Linked DNA regions of Homo sapiens: all the other regions are linked to region 3. The links are contacts of gene promoters, found by promoter capture Hi-C in human tissues and cell types (Jung and others, 2019). All regions are on one chromosome and are shown on one strand. Each heading gives the region's core, a stretch centred on a gene start or on the middle of the fragment in contact. The rest is flanking DNA. Distances are from core to core; before and after follow the strand shown. Region 1 holds the start of CLPB (ClpB family mitochondrial disaggregase). Region 2 overlaps CLPB (ClpB family mitochondrial disaggregase). Region 3 holds the start of FOLR1 (folate receptor alpha). Region 4 overlaps NUMA1 (nuclear mitotic apparatus protein 1). Region 5 holds the start of IL18BP (interleukin 18 binding protein).

What was found. Contacts are between HindIII fragments. The study calls those that stand out against the background at their distance.
Region 1: the fragment with the promoter of CLPB here is called in contact with the fragment with the promoter of FOLR1 in region 3 in 5 of the 25 tissues and cell types used here (IMR-90 fibroblasts, aorta, lymphoblastoid cells and 2 more).
Region 2: a contact is called between a fragment that was not itself captured here and the fragment with the promoter of FOLR1 in region 3, in 1 of the 25 tissues and cell types used here (spleen).
Region 4: a fragment that was not itself captured here is called in contact with the fragment with the promoter of FOLR1 in region 3 in 1 of the 25 tissues and cell types used here (H1 embryonic stem cells).
Region 5: a contact is called between the fragment with the promoter of IL18BP here and the fragment with the promoter of FOLR1 in region 3, in 1 of the 25 tissues and cell types used here (mesendoderm cells).

What each region holds. Positions count from the first base shown.
Region 1 is chr11:72,433,165-72,435,864 of GRCh38, forward strand. It overlaps CLPB (ClpB family mitochondrial disaggregase), which reads right to left and starts at 1,367. Exons shown (of 16, transcript NM_001258392.3): 1 at 908-1,367. The coding sequence starts at 1,310. RefSeq lists enhancers at 989-1,448, 1,512-2,318. The HindIII fragment of the contact is 14,936 bases long and covers 1-2,700 here.
Region 2 is chr11:72,404,913-72,407,951 of GRCh38, forward strand. All of the region lies in intron 2 of CLPB (ClpB family mitochondrial disaggregase), which reads right to left. Among named protein-coding and RNA genes, the nearest start is that of CLPB, 28 kb to the right of the region's middle. The HindIII fragment of the contact is 5,962 bases long and covers 1-3,039 here.
Region 3 is chr11:72,190,781-72,193,522 of GRCh38, forward strand. FOLR1 (folate receptor alpha) reads left to right here and starts at 1,360. Exons shown (of 4, transcript NM_016729.3): 1 at 1,360-1,561. The coding sequence starts at 1,394. The region is part of intron 2 of FOLR1-AS1 (FOLR1 antisense RNA 1); the gene reads right to left. The HindIII fragment of the contact is 9,856 bases long and covers 1-1,744 here.
Region 4 is chr11:72,029,385-72,032,128 of GRCh38, forward strand. The region is part of intron 3 of NUMA1 (nuclear mitotic apparatus protein 1); the gene reads right to left. Among named protein-coding and RNA genes, the nearest start is that of NUMA1-AS1, 16 kb to the left of the region's middle. The HindIII fragment of the contact is 4,468 bases long and covers 1-2,744 here.
Region 5 is chr11:71,997,516-72,000,242 of GRCh38, forward strand. IL18BP (interleukin 18 binding protein) reads left to right here and starts at 1,394. Exons shown (of 6, transcript NM_001039660.2): 1 at 1,394-1,504; 2 at 2,412-2,497. The coding sequence starts at 2,470. It overlaps RNF121 (ring finger protein 121), which reads left to right. Exons shown (of 9, transcript NM_018320.5): 9 at 1-82. The HindIII fragment of the contact is 6,503 bases long and covers 1-2,064 here.

The DNA of each region.
Region 1 (2,700 bases), core at 117-2,616, 240 kb after region 3:
ACAGCAAAATCCTGAGACTGACAGACTCAGGCCGCTGAACTCCAAAAAGAGTCAAAATAACAGTACTGTAAAAATGTTGGGAAACTATCCTTCACTATATAAATAAAGAAATTGGTCAGACGCGGTGGCTCACGCCTGTAATCCCAGTACTTTGGGAGGCCAAGGCGGGTGGATCAGGAGGTCAAGAGATCGAGACCATCCTGACCAACAACTAAAAATACAAAAATTAGCTGGGTGTGGTGGCCCGCACCTGTAGTCCCAGCTACTTGGGAGGCTAAGGCAGGAGAATAGCTTGAACCCGGGAGGCGGAGGTTGCAGTGGGCCGAGATTGCGCCACTGCACTCCAGCTTGGCGACAGAGCAAGACTCCATCTCAGAAATAAATAAATAAATAAATAAATAAATAAATAAATAAATAAATAAATAAATTGAGGTCAAGCTGGCATTAGAACCGAGTCAGGTTGTTCCTGACTCTGGCACCTTTGGTGGCGGGGGGTAGGGGGGAGCGGTTTGGCAACTTCTCTAAACCATCTGGCGGTTGCCCTTAAAACACCCCATAATTTCCGTTTCCTGGAGATCTCAGGAAAGAGGAATTGGACCAGGCAGAATATGAGAAACATAAGGGGACCATGCTATAATATTAGATGTTTAGTCCAATATCCCCATTGTACAGATGGATAAAATGATGCCCAGAGAGGGGAAGCGGATCTATGGTACGAGATTATACAACTCCGAGGTGATGAGGTCTCTAGGGCAACACCCTGCCCCTGTAACCAGATGATGTCTGAGTCCCTCCAAGACTTAGGCTCTAAGGATCTAAACCTATAAGTACCTCCCACCCTCCTAAGATACGAAGTTAGGACAATCTTCCCGCCTCTCCCTTCCTCAAACCCAGATCTCATAATCACCCTTGTTGGACGGACTCTTGCTGTAGCAATGAACCACCAGCGCTGCGGCCAGGGCGCACATGCCCAGTCCGGCCCTGCTGGGGACCCCGTTCCAGCTGTCCTGTCCTGGGAGTGTTTCTTCGGGACCAGGAAGGCGTCCCCAAGTGGCAGCCGCGAGGCATTTGGTATCGAAGCGTCCTCCCTGGCGCCCCCCGGTGGCTGCCCCACGTCCGGAGAACAAGGCCGGCGATGTTCCAGGGCGCCCCCCGGTGGCTACCCTCAGCCACTGCGGCTCCCCGAGACTCCCAGTAGTCACATTCCGGCCGGAAGCACCTCCATGGCCCCGGAGCGTTGGGGACCTGAGCAGCCGGAGGAGTAGCCGTGGCGCCAGTGCTTTTCTCCTCAACACCAGGGACCCCAGCATCTTGACAGCTGCTTCGATAACCCCGTGGTGCCGGCCCCTGTGCTGACCACGTCCAACATGGCTGCCGCGGCGCGTTCGAAGACGCCGCGAACAGGGTGGAGTTGCGCACTACCTCACGGGAGAGGTAGTCCACAGCCCTAAGCCTTTCCCCAGCTGGAGAATAAATAAACTACGTTTCCCAGAAGGCTGTGGGATTGCGTCACAATGACTGCGGGATTATAGAAGCCCGGGGCATATTGGGAAATAGAGTTCGGGTGAAGGGGCGTGGCGATTAGAGTTAAAGATTAGAATCCCAAGACTTCTTTCCTAGTTTAGTTGAAGCACACGACACACTTTTTTTTTTTTTTTTTTTTTGAGACGGAGTCTCGCTCTGTCTCACAGGCCGGAGTGCCGTGGCGCGATCTCGGCTCACTGCAACCTTCGTCTCCTGTGTTCAAGCAATTCTCCTACCTCAGTCTCCCGAGTAGCTGGGATTACAGGCGCCCGCCACCATGCCCAGCTAATTTTTGTATTTTTAGTGGAAACGGGGTTTCACCACGTTGGCCAGGCTGGTCTCTAACTCCTGACCTCAGGCGATCCGCCCGCCTCGGCCTCCCAAAATGCTGGGGTTACAAGCGTGAGCCACCGCGCCCGGCCCACAATTTTTGACTGGTGTAAATTACCCAAGAATCTTCAGCAGAGGCATATTATGAAACTTATGCTTATTTAGTTTAGCCTATCTCTTTTTTCAGCCTGGGCGGCCTTTCAAAAAGATGTTTAGGGTAACTACTGCACCTGAGATAGGAATACATTTTATTTGAAGAGTTGACTTCCGGTCTTTTTTTTTTTTTTTTTTTTGAGACAGAATCTCACTCTGCCGCCCAAACTGGAGTGCAGTGGCGCCATCTCGGCTCACTGCAACCTCCGTCTCCCTGGTCCAAGCGATTCTCCCACCTCAGCCTACCGAGTAGCTGGGATTACAGGCACGCACCACCACGCTTGGCTAATTTTTGTATTTTTAGTAGTAGAGACGGGGTTTCACCATGTTGGCCAGGCTGGTCTCCAACTCCTGACCTCAAGCGACCCACCTGCCTCAGCCTCCCTAAGTACTGGGATTACTGGCGTGAGCCACTGCGCCTGGCCCTGATTGTGTTATTTTTAAAGGGCTTTCAAGTGGGTCATCTCATCTGATCCTCATGGCAGCTGTGTGTGAGAAGCTGGGCAAGAACTGTTATTCCCGTCTACAGTGAAGGGAATTGAGGCTCAAAGGTGAAAAGATTTGCCAGTAAATCACCTGGAGTAAAGTAATGCTCAGGTCTTCTGATTTTGAGCATATAGTTTCCATTAACACCTGCACTCCCATCCCGCCCCCTCTTTTCCAAACTGAACCCATAGGTAGGCAAAGGAGGAA
Region 2 (3,039 bases), core at 287-2,786, 210 kb after region 3:
TTTCTATGGCCAAGAATGTTAAAGACGCTAAGAACCCTGTCTAATTTACAAAAACCTCTTCTCCTTGTTTAGCAGGCCACGTGATATGGTAGAGAGCGCATGGTTCTGATCCTAACTATGATCCTGATGGGATGGCCTCGCTTCTCTGACCCTCAGTCCAAGAGGCTAGAAAATCAGGATAGGCTGAAGAAAATCAGAGGCTTCTGACGGCACAAACTTGAATTGTGTCTTGAAGAAGGGGAAGAGTTTAGAGAAGTGGAAGGAAGTGCACGTCAATCAAGGCAAGAAACAGGGTATGACTGCGAAGCAGGAAAGGAACATTCAGAGATCATTAGGCAGCTCCATCTGGGTGACAGTTCACAGCAGAGAAACAGACAGCTGCTGAGGCATGCACAGCCAACACAAGACCTCGAATGTCAGACTAGGAGGCTAAGGCAGTGGGCATAAACCTTTCTGAGATATGGGCTCTTTTGTGACTACGATCAAATTTCTTCCAGAAAAGTGCATAGGAGCATACACTCTCAAAAACATTTTTTTTACATATAATGATCAGGTGTTCGCAGCCCCCATGAAATCAGTAATGGACCCTAGGATAAAAGCTCAGTCTAAAGGTTTGACAGATTCCTGGCATGCATGCTACTGTCCTGTGCTCCCACGTCTAAGAGGGATATCACACATCTCTCCCAGCAGTTCTTGCTGTGGAGCCTTTGAAAGAGCCTCAGAATCCTCTTCAAGGCCGGGCACGGTGGCTCACATCTGTAATCCCAGCACTTTAGGAGGCCAAGGCAGGTGGATCACGAGGTCAGGAGATCGAGACCATCCTGGCTAACACGGTGAAACCGCATCTCTACTAAAAATACAAAAAATTAGCCGGGCGTGGTGGCAGGCACGTGTAGTCCCAGCTACTCAAGAGACTGAGGCAGGAGAATGGTGTGAACCTGGGAGGCGGAGCTTGCAGTGAGCTGAGATCACACCACTGCACGCCAGCCCGGGCGACAGAGTGAGACTCTGTCTCAAAAAAAAAAAAAGAATCCTCTTCAAAATAGGTTCCAATCAGCCACCATCAATCCACTGAAGTTAGCAACAGAGAGAAAACCTAGTTGCCATTCCTTAGCTTCCCACCAAAGGCAGTGAGGTTGTCCATTCAAGGTTTTGGGACAAAAGAAATTATAAAATTAACCTAATCACTAAGCAGGCTGAATTTGAAGGGCGAAGAGTACAAAATGGGGATAAGAAGACCAGTTTGGAGGTGTAATACAGACCTTGGGAGAGGAGCTTGGGCAGGAAAATGAGAAAGGAGGGTGCAGCTAGGATAAACTCAGAGTGACCAAAATCCCTCATGCCTCCAAGGGAACAATGACCCATGTTCCCCTGCCTGGACCCTGAAAATTGTGGAAGCAGCGTTGCTCTAGAGGTAGGGCTGAAGAAAGAAGATTGAAATGCCTCCTCCTACTGCCCCTGAAGGGCCGAGTGCAGTCTAATAAAAAGAAATGGATGAATAAAGGGCATTGGAGTAAGTCAGACCCCGATTTGAATTCTGATCTAGCTAGATAACTCTAAGCAAATCAACACTAATTTTCAGTCTTCTGACCTCTGGGATAATAATCTCTAAGTTGCAAGATCCCAGCCTTGGCATATAGCAGGTATTCAATACAGACCCTACTATCCTATCTCACTTCCATCATTTTGATGGAACAAAGTGTTGCACTCTCAAGCTGGTAGTGGCAGGTTGGCTAATACCCAGGGATTCTAAGATGTGATCACACAGGATGACCTGGATAATTCAGCAAAGCTGGCTCTAGGCACTTTGTTCATTCATTCAGCAAACATGTGCACACACCCACTCTGTGCCCAGCCTCTTGCTGGCTACTGGGGAGGAGACAGAGAGAGAGGTTCTTGCTTTCCAAGACCTGAGCCAGGCAAGATCTATCTCTTCTTTTCCTTCCCTCCTTCCTTCTTTTATAAATACATATACATGGGTGTGTGTAGGTACGTGTGTGTGTGTATGTGTATAAAATTCTGCTTACAACTTTTTTCACAGAAAATTCTGTTTTAAGTATACTCATATTGCTAAGTATGCAATAACTCCATTGTTTTTAACTGTTGCATAACTCCCCACGGTGTGTGTCCACATTTTCTTTCTCTGCTCTCCCAGGCATACCCGCCCAGGGAGCCTCTATCTCCCAGCCACCAAAAACAATGCTCACAGAACATCCTCTCCTATGTCCCCTTTTGGACCTATGTGAGCATTTCCCTGTGGCATGTACTTGGAGTGAAATCACTGGGTCCTACAGTATGTGCATAGTTGATTTGACTAAATAGTGCCAAGGTCCTCTTCTGAATAGCTGCCCCACTGACCCTTCCACAAGCAGGACAGAGGTGTGCCTGTGTATCCCTCTTCCTGTCAACACTTGGCCATAGCCAGCTTTCTAATCACTGCCAGTCTAATGGGTGGGTGTAAAGGGCTATTATATTATTGTTTTATCTTGCATGTCTCTGATGACTAACAATTTTGAGCTATTTGTTATACGCATGTTTGCATTTCGGGATTTTCTCTTCTGTATATTGCAGGGTTTTCTATTTTAAGAGGAAGAACTCCTGGAAGAGGCATTTCTCTAAACCTGCTATCATAGAACTCCTGGAAGAGGCACTTCTCTAAACCTGCTATCATTTCAATGAAAGAACATACAGGAGAGTCAGGAGACCTGGGTTCTAGCTCTAGCTCTGCCACCTACTATTTTTTTTTTTTTTTGAGATGGAGTCTCGTTCTGTCGCCCAGGCTGGAGTGCAGTGGCACGATCTCGGCTCACTGCAAGCTCCGCCTCCCGAGTTCACGCCATTCTCCTGCCTCAGCCTCCCAAGTAGCTGGGCCTACAGGTGCCTGCCACCACGCCCAGCTAATTTTTTGTATTTTTTAGCAGAGACGGGGTTTCACCGTATTAGCCAGGATGGTCTTGATCTCCTGACCTTGTGATCCACCCGCCTCAGCCTCCCAAAGTGCTGGGATTACAGGCATGAGCCACCGCGCCCAGCCTCTGC
Region 3 (2,742 bases), core at 110-2,609:
GAATTCAATTCCAGGCTTATATGAGCCCTGCTGTGCAGTCGGCCTGGAGACAGCCCAGCTCAGGCCCTGCCTAGACCCCTGTCAAGGAGGCCCTGTCAAGAGGAGAGGAGGGGCAGCACGGGGGCAAGGCAAGCTTGTGAGCGGGAAAGGCATGTCCACTTTAGCGACTGGTATGTGGAAGATGAGTTAGAGGAGACAGATGGAGAGAAGTCATAGGAAATAAATTCTGAGCATTTTAGGAGGGCCCAGACACCTGGTGTCCAGTGGAGTGAAGGAAACAGTCGCCTCCCAAAATTCAGTGTCTGAGGTCAAAGGATTGAAGTTCTGTGATGACCAAGGAGAAGCCAGCTCTGTGGTAGGGGGCACAGGAGCTCCCCAAGGCCCCAGGGCTGTCCAGCTGGCTGTCCCCTGCCAGCACCCATGTCCTGTGACCCCACCCCACCAAGATCCCATGGTTTCCGGGAAGGGCCTACTAAACTAGCTTGAGTGATGAGGCTAGAAAGGGGCTGGGACCAAGGTTTAAAAAGCAAAACAAACTAACAAAAACCACACTGCAGCCCCCCCAACTAAAACATTTTTATAAACTTTTTTTTTTTTTTTGAGATGGAGTCTCGCTCTGTCACCCAGGCTAGAGTGCAATGGCACAATCTTGGCTCACTGTAACCTCCACCTCCTGGATTCAAGTGATTCTCCTGCCTCAGCCTCCCACGTAGCTGGGACTACAGGCACACGACACCGCACCCAGCTCATTTTGTATTTTTAGTAGAGACAGGGTTTCACTATGTTGGCCAGGCTGGTCTCAAACTTCTGACCTCAGGTGATCCACCCACCTCAGCCTTCCAAAGTGCTGGGATTACAGGCATGAGCCACCGCGCCCAGCCCATTTTTGTAAACTTTTACAATGAAGTAATTTGGTGTCAAAATCTGACCTGAAAATTAATGTGAGTTTATGTATAGTTTTAATTTATCCCACTAGTGTAACTGTTTCACCCCAGAATATACACTTGATTATTGGGTATATGAAAATTATATTTTCTTTGAATCACCTTTGATGAAATCCTAAAAAATTTTAACCCTGAAACATTTGAATAAGGCATTGTGGACCTATGGCAAACTCCTGGCTATTTCTGCATTTTGCCCAAATCCATCCTTGAATTATATCACCTGAACCTCGTGACCACCTGGAGAAGGCAATGAGGCTCAAGCCAGGGAGGGGTGGTGTCTAATCCTACCTTTCATTGGATCTGGGAAAACTGAGGGAGATGGGGGCAGGGCTCTATCTGCCCCAGGCTTCCGTCCAGGCCCCACCCTCCTGGAGCCCTGCACACAACTTAAGGCCCCACCTCCGCATTCCTTGGTGCCACTGACCACAGCTCTTTCTTCAGGGACAGACATGGCTCAGCGGATGACAACACAGCTGCTGCTCCTTCTAGTGTGGGTGGCTGTAGTAGGGGAGGCTCAGACAAGGATTGCATGGGCCAGGACTGAGCTTCTCAATGTCTGCATGAACGCCAAGCACCACAAGGAAAAGCCAGGCCCCGAGGACAAGTTGCATGAGCAGGTGGGCCAGGGGGTGATCTGGGGTGGTGAGGGACTGGCTCAGGAAGAGGAAACGAGGACATGGAAATGCCAAACCCCATTCACTGGTGAACTGAAGTGGAGGAGCCCTTCAGTTTGCATTAATATGGGTGACTATTTCACAGACACTGTGCCAAATGTCGGTACAATGCCAACAGTTCACCTTCTTGGTTGTTGAGTTTCCGCATTACAGAAATAAGGAAGCAGGCCCAAAGGAGAGCCTGGGAAATGAAGTTGGAGTGACCCATCCTGGGGTTGCTTGATTTAGGGATTTAGACTGGGAATGACTCCTCCAAAGATCTGAGGGAAGAAACTGCACACTGTGCATAGTGGCCTCTTTTCTGCCAGCCCTAAACAGCTCAAGAAGGGAGAGTCTCTCACATTATGAGGCTGTGTGCAAAGCATTCTTTTTTTTTTTTCCTGAGACAAAGTCTCCATATGTTGCCCAGGCTGGTCTCAAATTCCTGGACTCAAGTGATCCTCCCACCTCAGCCTCCCAAAGTGTGGGATTACAGAAATGAGCCGTACGCCCTCCTGAAGCATCTTGGTTCATGCATCTCGCAAAACTTTGGGCTGTGTCTCTCGACCACATTGGACCTGAGGTCTCCCTATAACATTTATTTTGCTACCACCCCTTTAATATCCTGAACATGATGATATAACTAAAGAAAAAGCAGAGGAAAAGTAATTTGTAGGCCAGGTGTTACGGCTCACGCCTGTAATCCCAACACTGTGGGATGTCGAGATGGGCAGATCACTTGAGCTCAGGAGTTCGAGACCAGCCTGGGCAAGATGGCAAAACCCCATCTCTACTAAAAAATAAAAAAAATTAGTCAGGTGTGGTGGCACATGCCTGCAGTCCCAGCTACTCAGGAGGCTGAGGTGGGCAGGTCAGTTGAGCCCAGGAGGCAGAGATTGTAGATCGTGCCACTGCACTCCAGCCTGGGCAACAGAGTGAGACCTTGTCAAAAGAAAGAAAGAACGAAAAAAAGAAAGAAAGGAAGGAAGGAAGGGGAGGAAGGAAAGGGAGGGAGGAAAGGGAGGGAGGAAAGGGAGGGAGGCAAGGGAGAGAAACTTGTAATACGCATTTCTTTTTTTTTTTCTTGAGATAGAGTTTTGCTCTTGTTGCCCAGGGTGGAGTGCAGTGGCACAATCTCAGCTCAC
Region 4 (2,744 bases), core at 53-2,552, 160 kb before region 3:
ACTATAGGAATACAAGAACTGATGATTCTCAGGTTTTTAATTTCAGGAAGGAGTGCCGTTGCACTCACTCATCCAGTTACAGCCACCTGAAATGCAACCATCAGAGAGCCCTTCCTTTGGCTTCAACTAAATAAAAGCTTAAACTTTCCTAAGATGTTCCAGCACTGGGAGTATTTTGGAAGGATACACCAATAAATTGGTACTACCACTGCTTCTAAAGAGAGGAACTTGACAGCAGGGAGTCTGAGGTGGGAAAAGAAAGGCTCTTACATTATAACTCTCTGTAGCTCTTGAATGTATTATAGCTCTTTGTATTTCTTGAACGTTTACATTATAAGTTTCTGTATCCCTTGGATTTTTATATTATAGTCCTTTGTGGCTCTTGAGTTTTGAAATATCTATTCAAAACTTAAATATTACATATATGCTATACACTCCCACAAACATATAAAATCTTATTAATACATTTTATATTATAGCCCTTTGTGGCTCTTGAGTTTTGAAATATCTATTCAAAACTTAAATATTACATATATGCTATACACTCCCACAAAGATATAAAATCTTATTAATACATTTTTATTCTTTCCACACATAAAGCTTTGGCTGAGGGGAGAAGGGAAAAACAATAGGGGAACAAGATGATTTTTTAAAAAGGGGGTGGAGGGAGCCAAGCGCGGTGGCTCACACCTGTAATCCTAGCACTTTGGGAGGCTGAGGCGGGAAGATCACTTGAGCTCAGGAGTTCAAGACCAACCTGGGCAACATGGTGAAACCCTGTCCTACAAAAAATACAAAAAATTAGCCAGGAGTGGTGGCACATACCTGTAGTCCCAGCTACTTAGAAGGCTGAGGTGGGAGGATCACCTTAGCCCAGGGAGGTCGAGGCTGCAGTGAGCTGGGATTGCATCACTGTACTCTAGCCTGAGTGACAGAGCAAGACCCTGTCTCCAAAGGAAAAAAAAAAAGAAAAGAAAAGAAAAAAAAAGGGGGCGGTGGGGGATGAAAGAATAGGAGCTGGGAATTTCAAAGAAAAACTTCTTAATTCTAATTTAGTTGCCTGTTCCCATTCTTTGGCTTCAGATAGGCATACATTTAAATCAGTTTTTACCACTAGAATATTCACCAGGGGTCACACACATCAGGTACACAGGTTATTCAATAAGTATACATGGTCAACCTCTACAGGAAAACCTCATGAATTCCACAGGCACTACAGTTCAGAAGTAGCCTGGGCTGAAGTTTACGTTTTTATTACTATAGGAAGAAAGGGTTTGCTAAGTTAATTATTCACATATTCAACACTAAGAGGGGAGAGAGACTGAGCCTGCTTTAAGAAACAAGGTATTTTAAAGAACTTCAGCATAGTGGTTATGTGCAGACAACTAGATTCTATTGCTTACAAATGTGTTCTCTATATTTGGGCTGGGAGCCAGTACATACACACTTTGGGCCCAGCTCCTCCACAAACTTGCCAGCAACCTTTGTTACAAACTTTATTTCTCTCTGCACTAGTTTCCTCCCTTGCCAAATGGATGGAATCCCTACTTTATCTACTTCAAAGGACCAGTGTGAGCTCAAATGGGATTATGGATGCAAGAACACATTAAAAAATATAAAGTAGGCCAGGTGCAGTGGCTCACACCTGTAATCCCAGCACTTTGGGAGGCTGAGGTAGGGGGACTGCTTGAGGCTGGGAGTTTAGGACCACCCTGGGCAACATAACAATACCTTGTCTCTACTAAATAAATAAATAAGCAAGCAAGCAAGCTGGACATGGTGACATGTGCCTGTAAGTCCTACCTACATAAGAGGCTGAGGTAGGTGGATCATTTGAGCCCAGGAGCTGGAGAAGTTACAATGAGCTATGATAGTGTCCCTGCACTGTGGCCTGGGCAACAGAGACATCTCAAAAAAAAAAAGAAAAAAGAAAAACTAATAAACATAAAGCACTATTATGGTTAATAAAATTAAAATAATGAAGTAGACATAACATTTGTATTTCTTAATAGTTAAGTTAGCTGCATGCACTATAGAATTAAGAGGATTTTTAAAAATCAATGATTTCTCTACAGACATGATAGTATTTATTTGAGTTAAACACTTTCACATTTAAAAACAACTTTTAGGCCAGGCGCAGTGGCCCATGCCTGTAATCCCAGCACTTGGGGAGGCTGAGGTGGAAGGACTGCTTGAGGCCAGGAGTTCAAGACCAGCCTGGGCAACATAAGGAGACCCTGGCTCTACAAAATAATAATTTAAAAAAATTTTTAGCTGGGTGAGGTGGCTTGCGCCTGTATGCTCGCGTAGTCCCTGCTACTCGGGAGGCTGACGTGGGAAGATCGCTTGAGCCTGGGAGGTCAAGGCTACAGCGAGCTATGATCACACCACTGCACTCTAGCCTGGCCAACGGATTGAGACCCTGTCTCAAAAAAATAAATAAATAAATAAATACAACATTTAGGCTAGGTGTGGTGGCTCATGCCTGTAATCCCAGTGCTTTGGGAGGACGAGGAGGGAGAATCGCTTGAGGCCAGGAGTTTGAGATCAGCCTAGGCAACATAGCAAGACCCTTTCCCCAAAAAATTAAAAAAAAAAAAAAAAAGAGAGAGAAAGGAAAAATAGCCCAGCATGGTGGTGCATGCCTGTGGTCCTAGCTACTCAGGAGGCTAAGGTGGGAGGCAGAGGATTGCTTGAGTGCAGGAGTTCCAGGCTGCTGTGAGCTATGAAGCTGCAACTGCATT
Region 5 (2,727 bases), core at 144-2,643, 190 kb before region 3:
CCCTTCAAGGGCAGCAAGAACGAAGCAGGATGTTGTCACTCCCGTCTGAATAAAGCTCCATGAGCTGGGTTGGAAAGCTGAACATTTATCTTGCTTTCTTCTTCCCACCTCTTTCCCTGGGGTCCCCAGGGGTGTCTTGCCTTTGTTAACCCCCATCGGAGACCTGAGGGTCTGGGGGTGGTTGGGCCTGCCTTTCTGCTGTTCCCAGCTGTTCCCCTGCTGACATCCCTAGGAGTGGTGGAATGCCAGGCTCCTGTCCTGTGGCCTGGGGGCCTGGGGCATCATTGGGCCTGCCTTCAGACTGAGGTTGCTCTATGTTCTCACTGCCTGAGGACAGTGTCCCGCCACCACCTGCCTTCCTGAGGACCACACTCAGGCTCGGCTTCTCTTCCCCAGCTGTGGCTTCCCATGGTACCCTGCTGCTTATGCCACCTGTGGGGCTGTTCCCCTCCTCAGAGAGGGGAATGGGGCTGGTCAGAGGACCTAGGGATCACCCTTCCTTTTACTTTTTCCCCCCACCCCCCTGTCAGGCTCAGGTGAGAAGCCGAGGCCAGGCTGTCCAAAGCTCTTTTCATGTGTAACAGTTCTGAGTCCCTTGACCTCCCCCCTTGGCCTGACTCTGGTCTCGGTTCCACTAAGACAGAGTCCTGTCATCTTTCCCTACCATCCCCCACTGGACTGTCTCTCTCAGAAACCCCAGGCAGCCTTGCCTCCTGACCTAACTCCTGGAGATGCTGGTGTTCTTGGGAGGAATTTCTCCTGCATCTTACATGCTAGAAGCCCCTGGGGCAGGAGGTAGGGGGAGGAATTGAGAGGAGGAAAAACATGAACTAGACACCTAGAGAAGAAGGATGTGACTTGTAGTATCCTATGTCTAAATTAGGAATATGAATCTGGTTTTTCTACAAGAAGTTTGAGATCACAGCTGACTGTGTTCCTGATGCATCCACCAAACCCAGTTCCATCTGTGGGCCTCCCTGGCTCTGTCACCAGCCGTTGCACCCTCCCAATCACAGGAGTCACAAACCTCAGACATGCAGCTCCTGTCCACACTTAATATATGCATGCATTGGATCACCCAGCCCTGGTCTTTCTGCCTCCATGGATAACTGCATGACCCTGAGAGAAAACCTCCTTAGATTTAGCATCCTAGGTTCCTCACACGCCTCACCCTGAATCCTGGCCCTCCCGCAGCCCCAGCGCCATTTGTCCCATCAGTGACAAGATTCATATTCTGATGTAGACTCTGTTGCCAGAGCCAGTGTTGAGCCAGTCCGCCTCTTCCCCGGGAAGTGCCTGCCCTTCCCTCCTGTTAGGGTTGGCTCTCGAGCTTGTGTGCCAGTTCCTGGGTTGGCCGTGAGAGTTCTACAGACAAGGAGGAAGTGCTCTCGGTGTATTTCCTGTGGTGGGTTCACACGCAGCTAGACACAGCTAACTTGAGTCTTGGAGCTCCTAGAGGGAAGCTTCTGGAAAGGAAGGCTCTTCAGGACCTCTTAGGAGCCAGGTAGGAGTCTGGGACTACTAGTGAACCTAGACCTGTGGCTCTGGCCAGAGGGGCTAGGATGAGAGACAGAGGGTGTGATGGTGGGTGCTGGGAGATGTAGCCGACCTTGGGGCTGGTGGCTGGGGGAGTGGGTAGCCTGGGAAAGGCCAGGATGTGGACGGACTGGTATGGCATTGAGCCTGAAGTGGTCCAACTTGGGGTTCCCCAGTGCCTAGGAAAGTTGTCCCCTTGAATGTCAGTGTGAAGGTGAAGGAGGAAGCAGATGCCTGTTCATATGGAAACAAAGACCTGGCTGTGAAGAGGGGAGGCGGACACCAAAGTCCTGACACTTGGGCGGGACAGAATTGATCTGTGAGAGACTCATCTAGTTCATACCCTAGGTGACCCTGGGGGTGGCATGGGGGTAGATTAGAGATCCCAGTCTGGTATCCTCTGGAGAGTAGGAGTCCCAGGAGCTGAAGGTTTCTGGCCACTGAACTTTGGCTAAAGCAGAGGTGTCACAGCTGCTCAAGATTCCCTGGTTAAAAAGTGAAAGTGAAATAGAGGGTCGGGGCAGTGCTTTCCCAGAAGGATTGCTCGGCATCCTGCCCTTCCCAGAAGCAGCTCTGGTGCTGAAGAGAGCACTGCCTCCCTGTGTGACTGGGTGAGTCCATATTCTCTCTTTGGGTCTCAATTTTGCCTTCCCTAATGAAGGGGTAAGATTGGACTAGGTAAGCATCTTACAACCATTTGTGGTCATGAGAGCTGGGGTGGGGAAGGATTGTCACTTGACCCCCCCAGCTCTGTTTCTAAGTGCTGAAAGAGCTCCAGGCTATGCTACGGGAGGAGAAGCCAGCTACTGAGGAAAAGCCAGCTACTGAGAAAAAGCGGGAGTGGTTTACCATTCTCCTCCCCCACCTTTCACCAGAGAAGAGGACGTTGTCACAGATAAAGAGCCAGGCTCACCAGCTCCTGACGCATGCATCATGACCATGAGACACAACTGGACACCAGGTAGGCCTTGGGGCTACGCATGGGCAGGCGGGGTAGGGTGAGGTCTATGAACAGAATGGAGCAATGGGCTAACCCGGAGCCTTCACTCCAAGGCAAACCACCCAGCGCACCTGGTGCTGTTGCTTTAAGAACCTGGGCAGATATTGTAGCTCTGGCTCCAGTCTAAAGCTTCTCTGTACTCTGTTCAATAAAGGGCTAAGGGGTGGGTGCTGAGGGGTCCCTCTTCCCGC